Linked DNA regions of Homo sapiens: region 2 is linked to region 1. Evidence: promoter capture Hi-C in human tissues and cell types (Jung and others, 2019). All regions are on one chromosome and are shown on one strand. The core of a region is centred on a gene start or on the middle of the fragment in contact, and the rest is flanking DNA. Distances in the headings are between cores, read along the strand shown. Region 1 holds the start of DCUN1D2 (defective in cullin neddylation 1 domain containing 2). Region 2 overlaps TUBGCP3 (tubulin gamma complex component 3).

Region 1 (3,931 bases), core at 178-2,677:
CGGGCGTGATGCTCCCTGTGGCCCCAGCTCCTGGGGAGGCTGAGGCGGGAGAATCGCTTGAGCCTTGACCAGCCACTGCACTCCAGCCTGGGCGACAGCAAAACTCTGTCTCAACAACCACAAAAAAGCTTTAGAATATTTAAGTCAAGCCTGTAGGAGAAAAAAACTACAAATATTTCACAAGTAATCCAATCATTAAGACACTCCTTTTGAAAAAGCCGGTAAATAAGATAAATTTGGAAGACAGAATAATCAGAAAAACAGGCAGTGAATAGGGACCCGATACGCAGCGGTCTTGCTTCCCCCGCGCAGGCGTCCACACCCTGGGTCATGGACACCGTGAGGAGCCGTTAGGAGTCACAGGAGGGGGGCCAGGGACAGGGCTGCATCTCTGCGGCCGGCCCTGGAGGCCCCGAGTCCACCCGGGCGGCCAGGGTGGGAACGCAGGTTCCATTCCAGGTTAGAACGTGGGCCTCAGCGAAGAGCGCCTAGGCAAGGCCTGGAGGAGCGGGACCCCAGGCCACACAGACCACCCGACCCCGGGAGACAATACCTGCAAGAAAAGGGGAGCCCCGAGGAGAGAGAGAGGGGAGGTGAGCCCCAGGGAGGGAGAGAGAGGAGGGGAGCCCCAGGGAGGGAGGGAAGGAAGGAAGGGGACCCCTGGGAAGGGAAGAAGGGAATGGGAGCCCCGGGGAGGGAGAGAGGGGAGCCCCAGGGAGGGAGGGAAGGAAGGAAGGGGACCCTTGGGAAGGGAAGAAGGGAAGGTGAGCCCCGGGGAGGGAGAGAGGGGAGGGGAGCCCCAGGGAGGGAGGGAAGGAAGGGGACCCCGGGAAAGAGCCCCGGATGGACGGGCCTGGTGCTCACCGGGACGCAGGGATCCGCGCCCGCCCGTCCGGCCCGAGCATCACCGTTCCGCGGCCTGGGCCGGGCTCTGAGGCGCCAGGACCCGAGGGGCGGAGGGGGACGCTGTCTCCCGCCTCGGAGCGCAGCGCCGGAGGGCTTCCTTGCATCCCTTCCCAGGCGGGACCAGGGAGGCCGGGAGGCCGGGAGTCCGGGAGGGAGCGGCCGCCGCCCTGCCCAGCACCGCCCCCGCTCAGCCAAGCCGACCCGGACTCCCGCCCAGCCGCAGTCACTGCCCCCTTTAAGAGGCGGGGCGTGGGCGGGTCCCGTCGGCCGCGGGCGGCGAGCACTTCCTGGCCGGCGTGGGGCCTGGCAGCCGCAGGCTGGCGTTGGACCCCGCAGGGGCGAGCCAAGGCCCTCGCAGAGGGCTGGACGCGCAGGGGCTGTGGGGCGCGAGCTCCCGTGGGCCCCCGGGCGGCGCTGAGCATGCCGGGAGTGGGAGTCCCCGCGGCCGGCTCCCGGCACTGCCCCGGAGCCGAGGGCCGCGGCCGTCCGAGGACGAGGGCGGAGCCGCCGCCGCGCCTGCGCAGAAGGCCGGGGCCGGCCAGAAGCGGGCGGCGCGGGGGAGATGGTAGGTGGCCCGGCGTCGCCTCTGCCCGTCGGGGTCGGGGTCGGGGTCGGGCCCCAAGGTCGGCGCAGGCGGCGCGCTGGATGTGGGAGGCCGAGCCCAGCGAGCTGCGCGGGGCGTTCCGCGTGGATCCGAGGGAGGAACGCGCCGCGGGCCCGCGAGCCGGAGCGGTGGCGTCGGAGGCGCGGGACCGCGGGGAGCGCGGGTTTGACCCGGAGCCGCGAGGGACGACCGGGAGTGAGCGGAGGGCGGGGGCCGGGAGGAACTGTAGGGGCCTTGGGGCAGGGGCCGGGGCCGAGCGGGAACCCAGGCCGGGGGCTTCCCAGGGCGGCTTCGAAACGGGCAGTCGAGGCGGGCGAGGGCTCGGCTGCTCCTGCGGGCGTCTGTGCAGATGCTGAGGCTGTTGACCAAAACAGCGCAAGGAAGGAATCCGCGAGAAGCTCAGATTCGCGGGGGAGGCCCTGCTGCCGGGAGGGGAGGGAGAGGCACAGCGGGGCCCTAGCGCGGGCTCTAGCCGGGAGCTGTAGCGTGGCTGTAGGTGTGCATCTGTGGAGCTGGTAGAGTTCCGCAGCGCAGGAGGGAGGCTGCTGGAGGTGCACATCAGTTACTTTGAAATGTGGTGGAAATGGTGATGGATGGGATTTATTCAGTCCACATCGGTTCAGAGGCCAGCAAGGTGCTGCTGGGTGTGACTGGTGCTGGGCCAGGCATGATCTTGGCGTTGAGGGAGTTGATGCCCCAGCAGGGGAGACAGGCACCAGATGCACAATTGTTTGACCACAGTTGGGACAAAGGCTAAGGCACGGGTTCCAGGAACTTGTAGGATGCGGCTGTGGGAGTGGTGTCAGATGCTGAGGGTGTGAGTTGAACTGTGGAGAATTTCTCTGGAAATTAGCCAGAGAAAAAGTGAGGTTCCGGGGCAGCCAGCCGTGTGCGGCTCCAGGCAGAAGAAACAGAATGCACAGACCCTTAGTGGTAGGCGATGATGACGTATAGGAGCTGAAAGATTGTCCTGGCTAAGGCACAGAGAGCCACCGGAGAAGGGACACGGTAACGTGTAGAGGGGAGTGGAGGGTGAGGACAAGCTTCAGGATGGGAGAAGAGCCACAAAGGAGACTGAGAGGGGGCTGGTAGGAGAAACCAGGACACTAGAATGTGTCGAAACCAAGAGGATGGAGTTTAAAGGAGGAGGGAGCCATCAGCAGTGCTGAACAAAAGAGCAGCTGAAAAGATCCCACTGACCGCAGCAGCCGAGCTTTTGTGACCTTTAGGGGTCACTGCGGAGGCCGGGCTGGAGCCAGGTAGCCTGAGTTAGGATGCACACCTGGGCAGGTAGAGATAGCTTGCTCCAGCTTTTAGGAGGACAGGGGCAGAGTGGACAGGAACTTAGTTTGGGGAAAACTTGAACATGTTCAGGATGCTGGAGAGGAGCGTTCCACTGCTGCCGAGGTTGGAGATCCAAGAGCAGGGATGAATTTAACTCCCCCTCCCTCTAGCGTGCTGTATACCGAAACAGAGTGAAAGTGATCCATAAACTTACGTAGTTTATTCGATCAACATGATTGGCCCGCCAGCCCCGGGTAAGTTGACCCTAAGGACATTTTAAGAGTAATTTCTTTCCATTTTACATATGGGTATCCTTGGTGCCAGATTATATGAGTCGTATTTCACAAGGTCACAATTAAAGTGTTTGAGACTTTTTTATAGTTTAGAGATTTTATTTGCTGTTTCCACTGGATTGTCCAGATTTTTATTTCAAGAATTGTGTACATTTTAACAGAAATAATGAAACCTAGAAAATGCCTTCCCCCCACCCCATGTACACACTTTAAAAGCTGGCCTTAATAATTTAATTTGCATGATGTGGTAAGCCTCAGTGAAGGTTGTGAGCTTGAAGGGCGGCCCTAGTTCCAGTGTATCCACCTTGATTAGATTGACCTGGGTTCAGTCCTGTCTGGGTGCACTCGAAGCTTCTTGCCAACGTCTGGGCCTTTGTTAATTTGACCTGGGTTCAGTCCTCTCTTGGTGCACTCAAAGCTTACTGCCAATGTCTGGGCCTTTGTAAATTTGATCTGGGTTTAGTCCTGTCTAGAGGGACTCGGCTTCCTTCTCTCCCCTGTAGTTTTTTAGTTGACGAGCCTTTTTGTTTCCTAAGAAGCTTTATGCCAGTTCCCTTTTTCACAAGAGGTAACTTGGGTCTCTCAGTCACTTTTGGACATGAAGCACCTAGTCTTTAGACTTAGCTATCGATCATTGCTTTAATCACTGTTATTTTATGGAGAAACCTGTAAGGGGTGACATCAAATGATTGCAGCTTTGTTGACTGACCAGAGGCCTGTTAATGGACTAAGCCTAGACCCCAAAGCTTCTCTTGCTCCTTCAGAACCAGTGCCTTGGCACCACCGTGTGGTTCAGGGTTTACTGGAGTATCTTGTGACATCAGACAATTTGAGTAGATTGCAG
Region 2 (4,079 bases), core at 748-3,247, 920 kb after region 1:
TCCAGCTTCCTCTTCTGTGCTGCTGCCCTCACTCTGGTTCCCAACACATTTCCTCATGTTCTGGCTAAAATCCGAACCCCCAGCCTGCCAGCCTTGTGATGGAGTTTTGGGGCCATTATTGGTTCTTGTCAAGTGTGGAATGGGGCAGCCCACTGCGGGGGTGCCCCTGAAGGTAGAAGGGGCTGGTAGCCTGGCGCAGGGCTGGGAGAGCTGTGGTGCTTCCTCCCTCCCTCCCCACCTGGGCCCTGGCTGGGGAGACTGGGCCTGGCTCGGAGGTTTTTCTGTCTTTGCCTGTTTGTGGTTTGGGTTTTGGAGTGTTACCCAGCCCCAGCTGGTGCAGTAAACAGCAAACAGATAAAGAAAATATCAAAAAGCAAAAATGGGGGAAGTCATTCCAGGATTTCCTTTGATTCATCAGTTTCATACCCAGTCTGCTTCTCTTACCCATTGTTCAGAGTCTGATTGGAGGTGTTTTATGTATTTTTGCCAGAGTTTTACATTGTCATCAGTAGTGGAGTGTGCTTACTCTGTCTTGACGGAGATGACTTCTGTCTCTAGTTTCTTCTTTCAAGTCAATCCTGTTTGTTTTCTTTACATCTTTCAGGGATTCTTCAGTTTCTGTTTCACCAAGAGTGCTCTTCTTAGATCCACTTTTCTGGTTTTGTTTATATCTTCCTTAAATCCTTTGTTACATTTCTGGGGATTTTGGATTGTCTATGGATTGGGCAGGGGAAGTCACACTGTGAGCTCAGAGTGCCCACTTGAAGATTCTCTGTGGATTGGGCAGGGGAAGCCACACTGAGCTCAGAGTGCCCACTTGAAGATTCTCTGTGGATTGGGCAGGGGGAAGCCACACTGAGCTCAGAGTGCTCACTTGAAGATTCTCTGTGGATTGGGCAGGGGAAGCCACACTGTGAGCGTGGAGTGCCCACTTGAAGATTCTTTGTGGATTGGGCAGGGGGAAGCCACACTGTGAGCTCAGAGTGCCCACTTGAAGATTCTCTGTGGATTGGGCAGGGGGAAGCCACACTGTGAGCTCAGAGTGCCCACTTGAAGATTCTCTGTGGATTGGGCAGGGGAAGCCACACTGAGCTCAGAGTGCCCACTTGAAGATTCTCTGTGGATTGGGCAGGGGAAGCCACACTGTGAGCTCAGAGTGCTCACTTAAAGATTCTCTGCGGATTGGGCAGAGGAAGCCATACTGAGCTCAGAGTGCCCACTTGAATTTCCAGGTGCCACTCATAGTTCCACTTCCTTCCTAGGATGGAGAACAGTGTTGGCTTTTGCTGGCAGATGCAGCTGGGCACTGCCCTGTTGGGCTGCTCCTCTGCATCCCGGGTTGAACTGGGCCCAGCACTCAGTGGTGGGGGTGGGGGGATCTGGAGGTATCTACTGGTAACTTGACTTCTAGAGTCATAGAAGTTGGGCAGACAGGCAGGCTATCCCACCCTGGCACCAGCTCCAATCCACTTATTGAAGTGATTGCTTTCGGAAGGTGGAGGCTTTCTGAAAGATTTCTTCCTGACCCTTGACGTTCTTTTGCTGCTGAGATTGTAGTGGGGAACATTCTTCTCCCAGATCCCTTGTACTGAGGGTGGGAGTTCCTCAGATTGGGAGTTTGCCTCTGCAGAGATGAGAGCCTGGATTTTTTCCTGGGGCTAAGGCAGTTGCTGTGAACCATGTAACTTCCAAGGCCCTTCCCTTCTCATCCTTTCTGTCTTGTATGACTTCTTTGGACATTTATTCCACTCCAGGTTTCTCCCTCCCCACTTCTGCCTGGGCTGATCTGGTGATTTCCTTGTCTTGGCTGTCGTAATTTCCATCTTTTTGCCTTTTTGTTTTAGTTTTTGAGAGACTTCTTCAACTTTAAATACAAGCTTTCTACTTATTTTAAAAAACATCTGCCTTCATACTTTTAATATTCAAGAGCTTGTCTTCTCTGAATTTATGGCATACTGTTTTGTTTCATGGATGTGTTATGTCTAATCTCGTAGGCCATTATAGCTTGTTTTTGTACATCTTGCCCCCATTTTCTTATTCCCTACGTTGTTACTTTTTCTTAGAGTTTCCTTTTTTCCTTCTTGTGTTTGTCTCCTTTTTGTTTTAGATGATGCCCTCAGGTATCTGGCGATACCTGTTCTTTTCATCTTTAAGAGTGGAGTTGTCGGAAGGTCTTGGCTAGGGCAGCATTTGCCCAGTGCTGAGCTTCCTTGTGGAGGACAGGCACACGTCATCTTATTGTCCTTTACAGATACTGCGTTATTTGACAATTGGAAGTTTTTGGCACCCTGCGTTGGGCAAGTCTTTAGGTACCATTTTTCCAACAGCATGTGCTCACTTTGTATCTCTGTGTCATATTTGGAAATTCTCACAGTATTTCAGACTTTTTCATGATTATTACATCTGTTACGTTGATGTGTAACTTGTGATCTTTGATGCTGCTGTTGTAATTGTTTTGGGGTGCCATGAAGTGCGCAAACTTAATCAAAAAGTGTTGTGTATGTTCTGACTACTCTGCCGACCAGCTGTTCCCTGTCTCACCCTCTCTCCTCAGGCCTCCCTATTTCCTGAGTCACAACAATATTGAAATTAGGCCAGTTAATAGCCTTACAGTGACCTCTTACTGTTTAAGTGAAATTAGTGATCAACAGAAAACCAAACATGACCTTCTCACTCATAAGTGGGAGTTGAACAGTGAGAACACATGGACACAGAGAGGGGAACAACACACACCAGAGCCTGTTGGAGGGTGGGGGGTGAGGGGCGGGAACTTAGAGGACGGGTCATTAGGTGCCGCAAACCAGCACAGCACACGTATACCTATGTAACAAACCTGCCACACGTGTACCTGTGTAACAAACCTGCACGTTCTGCACATGTATCCCGCTTTTTGTTTTTTAGAAGAAATAATAATAAAAGAAATTAGTGTTCAAGTGAAATGAAGAGTCACATGCCTCTCACTTTAAATCAAAAGCTAGAAATGGTTAAGCTTGGTGAGGAAGGCATGCCAAAAGCTGAGATACGCGAGAAGCTAGGCCTCTTATGCCAGTTAGTCAAGTTGTGATTGAATAGGAAAAGTTCTTGAAGGAAATTACAAATGCTATTCCAGTGAACACAAGAGTAATAAATTGAAACAGCCTTATTGCTAATATGGAGAAAGTTTGAGTGGTCTGGATAGAAGATCAAACCAGCCACAGCATTCCTTTAAGCCAAAACCTAATCTTGAGCAAGACCTTAATTCTGTGAAGGCTGAGAGAGGTGAGGAAGCTGCAGAAGAAAAGTTAGAAGCTAGCAGGGGTTTTTAGTTCATGAGACTGAAGGAAAGAAGCTGTCTCCATAACATAAAAATGCAAGGTGAAGCAGCACCTGCTAATGGAGAAGCTGCAGCAAGTCATCCAGAACTAGCTGAGATCATTGGGGAAGGTGGCTACACTAACAACAGATTTTCAGTGTAAGTGAAACACCCTTCTATTGGAATAAGATGCCATCTTATTGGCGTCTAATAAGATGCCAACTTTCATTCCTAGAGAGGAGAAGTTAGTGCCTTCCTTCAGAGCTACAAAGAATAAGCCGACTCTTGTCTGGGGCTAATGCAGCAGGTGACTGAAGTTGTTGAAGCCAGTGCTCGTTGACCATTCCAAAAATCCTGGGGCCCTTAGGAGTTATGCTAAATCTACTCTTCCTGTGCTCTAGAAATGAAACGACAAAGCCTAGATGACAGCACATCTTTTTATAGCATGGTTTACTGAATATTTTAAGCCTCCTATTAAGGTCTGCTGCTCAGAAAAAGATTCCTTACTGCTCGTTGAGAATGCACCTGGAGTTGTTTTCATGCCTGCTAACATGCATCTGTTCTGCAGAACATGGACCAAAGAGTAATTTCAACTTTCAAATCTTATCACTTGAGAAACACATTTTATAAGGCTATAGTTGCCATAGATAGTGATTCCTCTGATGGATCTGGGCAAAGTAAATTGAAAACCTTCTGGAAAGGATTCATCATTCTAGATGCCATTAAGATCATTTGTGATTCATGGGAGGTCAAATTGTCAACATTAACAGGAGTTTGGAAGAAAGTG

The links. Contacts are between HindIII fragments. The study calls those that stand out against the background at their distance.
Region 2: a fragment that was not itself captured here is called in contact with the fragment with the promoter of DCUN1D2 in region 1 in 1 of the 25 tissues and cell types used here (dorsolateral prefrontal cortex).

What each region holds. Positions count from the first base shown.
Region 1 is chr13:113,488,207-113,492,137 of GRCh38, reverse strand. DCUN1D2 (defective in cullin neddylation 1 domain containing 2) reads left to right here and starts at 1,427. Exons shown (of 7, transcript NM_001014283.2): 1 at 1,427-1,471. The coding sequence starts at 1,469. SLC9D1 (solute carrier family 9 member D1) reads right to left here and starts at 1,117. Exons shown (of 13, transcript NM_017905.6): 1 at 865-1,117. RefSeq lists a silencer at 807-1,726 and an enhancer at 1,957-2,256. The HindIII fragment of the contact is 3,591 bases long and covers 1-2,996 here.
Region 2 is chr13:112,571,098-112,575,176 of GRCh38, reverse strand. All of the region lies in intron 1 of TUBGCP3 (tubulin gamma complex component 3), which reads left to right. Among named protein-coding and RNA genes, the nearest start is that of TUBGCP3, 15 kb to the left of the region's middle. The HindIII fragment of the contact is 4,851 bases long and covers 1-4,079 here.